Regions from separate parts of the Homo sapiens genome. Here region 2 is linked to region 1. The links are contacts of gene promoters, found by promoter capture Hi-C in human tissues and cell types (Jung and others, 2019). All regions are on one chromosome and are shown on one strand. The core of a region is centred on a gene start or on the middle of the fragment in contact, and the rest is flanking DNA. Distances in the headings are between cores, read along the strand shown.

Region 1 (2,703 bases), core at 75-2,574:
CCAGAGAACGTGTTTTTGGGCTTCCTTATGCAACTTCTGGAATGTTGAAGTGGATAGCCTGAGCATTGTCCCACAAAATGGGGCTAATCTATCCCAATCCCCACGAGCTATAAAGCTGTTTGCAAGTTCAGCCATTGAAGTCCCATTGGCCCAGTTAAATTCTCACGTTTGGCCTCCTGCACTACCAGCTTTCCTTAGTGTCTGGGCTCTCAAAACTTCTACGTGAGAATGGCCTGGGGTACTTTAGTTAGAGATTCAGATTCAAACCCAGGGTGGGGGTGTTCTTCATGGTGCCTGGGATGAGTCTTCCAAGGACCATTTGGAGAAACAGGCGCTGATGGTATTTTGCTTCTGTTCAGTCCTTCACTGACAGAGAGCCTGCAGGGTTGAGGAAGAAGGCTCTGTTTTGAAGTGTGGATCCCTCCCTGCAATGGTCTCTATTTGCATCTTCTTTACTCCAGGCTCACCTAGCCAAATGTTGAGTTTTCCAACCCCTCTGGGTATGAGATTGCTTTGGGCGATCTGAGATCTGCAAATGTCTGAGAACGAGGAGCACATGGGCACGCTGATGACTGCCCTGCAAACTGCCTGGCAGCCAGGGTCCTCCTGGGCCCTCCTTTAAAATAACATATACATAAGCCGGCCTGGAGGCCCAGGCGGGAAGATCACTTGAGCTCCGGAGTTCGAGTCCAGCCTGGGCAACATAGCGAGACCAGAAAATAAGCAAGTAAGTTACTCTCTGGGCTGTCGTAACTTATTTTTTCTTTTTCTCCTGCAAATTGCAACTCAGAACATTTGGTCTGCCAGACTGAAATATGGACTTCTGTTCCAAATATCCAGACGTTACAGTTCCCACAGGTGGCCAGGAGAATGCTGGAACCTTTGGCGGAGACGGTCTGGTCTTGTCCCGCAGCCCGCGAGGGTCCCCCGCTATTTGGGGTCAAGCAGATCCCCGGGGCGCTCTGGCCACCCCTTGCGGCAGCTGGTGCGGCCTCCTCGGAGAGCTCCGGGCCGGCGCCCGGGACACCCCGCCGCCCTCCCTGCCGCCCCAGGGACGAGCCCAGCGGTGCGGAGAAGTGGGAGGCTGGAGCCTGCTGAGGTCATTTCCTGTGCCTCTCCGCGAGCTGCCTGGAGAGCTGAGCCCAGCGCTCTGCCTTTAAGGAGCGGGCGGGGAGCCGAGGGGAGGAGGGCGCCCGGCGGAGCGTTGAATGGGGCGCAGCAAGGCTCGGCCGGGCTTTGTGCAGCGAGCCCGCGGGCACCCCTCCCGCTCCAGCCTCGCCCCGCCCCGCAGCCCACGACCCCTGCTGCCGGGGAGGGGAGAACCGGCGGCAGCCCGGGACTCCGGCGAGAGCGACGCAAGGTCGGCTGCGGCGGCGGCCCGAGGGCGCCCGTGTGCCCAGTGCGCGGCGGGGACGGCCGCGAGCTCGCTGGAGGTGAGCGACCCGCGCTCCCGCCGCTGTGGTGGGCTGGGGCTGCGCCGCGGCGGAGGGCGTCAGGCTGCGCGCGGGGGACGGCCCCTCGGGCCCAGAGGACGATCCGGAGCAGGTGCCTCCCTACCTGGAAGCGAGCTCCCAGCGGCGGGGAGCGCTGGAGCGCGGGTCTGGCTTGGGAAGCCGGGCGCCCCAGGGGACTCGCGCCGCGAGGCCAGGAGGAGCCTCCCCCGGGAGTACCTGGACTTGGGGATCGGTCAGATCCAGCCGCTCCTGGGAAGGGCCCTCGGAGCGGACGTGCAGGCTGCCACCTTGCTATCGGTGCTCGCTCCCTTTCACCCCTTCCCGCACCCCTCCCCATCTCACCTCAGGTTATTTCTTCTGTGATTTCTGAGTGTTGTCTTTGGGACCCTATGGCTCAGGCTCGACTCCTAGGAGCAGGTCATTCAAGCAGAAAAGAAAACAGGTTGGGCGCCGAATGACACAGAGCATTGTGTCCTAGGAGTCTTAGCGAGGACTCGGTCACCAGGAACCAGGGGCCTTAGTGGGGGTGGCAGAGGCGGTGAAGAGCCTCATCTGGAAGGAAACTCCTCTCCTTGTGGGATTTCTGCTTGCCAGGATATCTCCTCCATAGCTTTTACTATGAATCCACCTCATAAAACTCTTCCAAGACAGAGCCTTGGTTCAGGTAAAACACTTGAAAGACCATTTAAAAAATTCAGTGGGAGAATTATCAGTTCCTTCATCAAACTGTTTGGACTGTCTTCTATGTGACAGACACTGTGTATAGGGCTAGTACCATCACTGAACGCTTTATAGAACATCGGTATTAGTGTTTCTGCATATTATTGGCCCCATTTTTCCAAAGGAGGAAGCTGGGACTCTGAAAAGTTGTGATTTAGGCCAGTTGCAGTGGCTTATGCCTGTAATCCCAGCACTTTGGGAAGCCAAGGCAGGAGGAGAGCTTGATGCCAGGAGTTCAAGACCAGCCTGGGCAACATAGGGAGACCCTGTGTCTACAAATAAATAAAAATTTAAAAATTAGCTGGGTGTGGTGGTGTGGGCCTGTAGTCCCAGCTAACTTGGGAGGCTGATGATCCTGTCTGTTAAAAAAAAAATTGTTGTGATATGCCCATGGTCACATAGCTAAAAAGTGGAAGAGCCATAACTGAAACCCAAGCCTCCTAAATTCCTAACGTATGGTTCAGTCCACTTCTACCACCTTCCCATAGACTGCTGAGGGGGCCTGCTCAGAGTTGGGCAATTGTGGGGT
Region 2 (2,700 bases), core at 30-2,529, 46 kb before region 1:
GCTGTGTCCTCACCCAAATCTCATCTTGAATTTCCACCATGTTGTGGGAGGAACTGGGTGGGAGGTAATTGAATCATGGGGCCAGGTCTTTCTCATGCTGTTCTTGTGATAGTGAATAAATCTCATGAGATCTGATGGGTTTTTGTTTTGTTTTGTTTTGAGACAGAGTCTTGCTCTGTTGCCAGGCTGGGGTGCAATGGCACGATCTTGGCTCACTGCAACCTCTGCCTCCCAGGTTCAAGCGATTCTCCTGCCTCAGCCTCCTGAATAGCTGGGACCACAGGTGCATGCCACAATGCCCAGCTAATTTTTGTATTTTTAGTACAGATGGGGTTTCACCATGTTGGCCAGGATGGTCTCAATCTGTTGACCTTGCGATCCACCCACCTCGGCCTCCCAAAGTGCTGGGATTACAGGCGTGAGCCACAGTGCCCGGCTGATCTGATGGTTTTATAAGGGAGAGTTTCCCTGCACAAGCTCTCTTTCTGCTTGCTACCAACCTTGTAATATGTGACTTGCTTCCCCTTGCCTTCCACCATGATTGTGAGGCTTCCCCAGACACGTGGAATTAACCCTCTTTTTCTGTATACATTTTCCACTCTTACGTATGTCTTTATCAGCAGCACGAAAACAAACTAATACACTGGGTCTGGCCTGGATTTTAGAGGCCATGTGGCCATAAGACGGCTCCCGCATGTGATGGCCCAATATTGCTTGACATTCCCCTCCCATTGCCCTGTGACAGGACCTTGGATGGGGAACAGACTCAGAACTAGAACCTCCAGACTCGTGCCCATGCTGATGAGGTGCCGAGCAGGCAGGATCGCTGGGCTGGTGATCCCCTGGGTGCTTGTAACATACTCACTTATCACACCCTTGAGTGTGCAGCTCACAACAGACATCAGGATCACTGTCCAGGAGTGTCCTGGGTTAACCTTTGTTGGCTGGGCCTCAGTGCCATTCTCAGCAACGTAGGCAAGCATCAGCCCTAGGGCTCAGCTGATCCTTGGCTGGGGGGCTGGCAGCTTCCATGTGTCCCTGGGAATAAAAGAGGAGGCTTTTATTAGCTTAAACTGCCCCCAGCAGATCCAAGAAAAACATTGCAAGGGCCTGGGCTCTGGGCTCAGCACCAGACACTCATCCCACCCTGGCCACCAGGGCCCCTTCCCGGAACCTACCCCCTCCTCTTTGCATCCAGTTTGCTCAGGTCTGATTAATCCAGCCACAAAAGTCTGGGATGGTCCTGGACAATCCACATGTCCAGGGTTAGGACTTAGGGCTTCTTGCCTAAATGTGTGAACACTTGTGAATCTGAGAGGGGATATAATTTTAGAATCCAGCTCCATTCTCATTCAGCTTCAAATTACATTCTCACCTTCACCCTGTAGTGGGTACATCTGTTCTCAAGGGCGGTCAGAACCTCATGGAAGGCAGACAATGTAGGACATTCGTTTCAGCACTTTGAAAGCAGAGAACAACCACTCGTGCAGAAAAACAAAATGTGTGCTAAACCTTTCTACGTACTATTCTACCTCTCTAATATTTATTCATCTCATTTTATTATTTCACCATTATTATGGTTGAGGCCCTTCCTATGAACATCAGTAACCAGCTACAAGCTAATACAAATCTTACTTTATAATGCCCTTTGCCATGTACTTTAAAAAAAAAAATCAAGTAGAGACGGGTCTTGCTATGTTGACCAGGCTGGTCTCAAGCTCTTGGCCAACCCTCCCACCTCAGCCTCCCAAAGTGCTAGGATTATAGGCGTGAGCCACTGTGCCTGGCCAGCCATGTACAGCCATGTTTTTACTACTATCCCTAAGACTTGACTATTTAATGGAGATTCCAACATTTTTTGTTTTAATATGAAAGTGCTAAAGCTTCCCTGAAAACCCCCTGGATACAACACCATCTGCATATGCCCAAGGACAGCACTCAGGCCCAGCATGGCCCTCTGGGACAGCCCAGCCACTCAGAAGCTGAGAACAGTATGTGGCTGGGGGTGGGAGCTGGCACTCCCCTGTGGATGACCAGGCAGGATGGACCAGAGGTGCTGGTCTGTGCTGATGCCCATGTCCACCTTCCCCACTCCCCTCTGACCACCAGGGTCTCTGAGTAGAGGCCGCTTGGGCCCTTGCTCAAGCTGACAACCTGTGAGGCAGCCAGGCAGCCGAGGAGAAGTGAAAGGGCAGGAGTGGGGGAACTGAAACTCACTGTATGGTGTGGTTTTGGGGGGTGCCCCCCTGGGTCTCCCCCCGGGGCCTCTGCACTGAGAGCATCACAGTGGGCTGCTGTGCTCAGCCTTGCCTCCCCCTCCCCAGCTCCTTCACAAACGGGACCCTCCAACCCTCCCTGATCTGTCCATCTTACCGGCTTCTTCCAGCCTGCCGGATGGCGGACAGGGGTCACCTTGACACGTACCTATCACCTTGAGGAAAAGGTTTTAACGGAGCATGTCCGAACCCTCTGGGACTCTCTCTCCACCAGCACCACAAGGACCATGTGCCTGGGGAGTTCAATCCCACCTGTGGAGACTTCTCCCCACCCTAGGCCCTCAGCCACATCCACGGCACAAGTCAGAACTAAAACAGAAACAGAAACCAAAGACCACATCCTGCCGGCACAGCCTGCGGGTTACTGCAGCCAGCTCTGGGAGCCCACTGCCTGCTGAGGTGCAGCCCTGGCAGATGAAGCCCC

Evidence for each region. Contacts are between HindIII fragments. The study calls those that stand out against the background at their distance.
Region 2: a fragment that was not itself captured here is called in contact with the fragment with the promoter of PLEKHH1 in region 1 in 1 of the 25 tissues and cell types used here (spleen).

What each region holds. Positions count from the first base shown.
Region 1 is chr14:67,531,966-67,534,668 of GRCh38, forward strand. It overlaps PLEKHH1 (pleckstrin homology, MyTH4 and FERM domain containing H1), which reads left to right and starts at 1,325. Exons shown (of 29, transcript NM_020715.3): 1 at 1,325-1,433. It also overlaps a transcript of GPHN not described here and a transcript of TMEM229B not described here. RefSeq lists a silencer at 949-1,418. The HindIII fragment of the contact is 40,466 bases long and covers 1-2,703 here.
Region 2 is chr14:67,486,135-67,488,834 of GRCh38, forward strand. It overlaps TMEM229B (transmembrane protein 229B), which reads right to left and starts at 2,587. Exons shown (of 3, transcript NM_001348543.2): 1 at 2,374-2,587; 2 at 866-1,038. It also overlaps a transcript of GPHN not described here. RefSeq lists enhancers at 1,929-1,998, 2,162-2,661, 2,299-2,700. The HindIII fragment of the contact is 6,771 bases long and covers 1-2,700 here.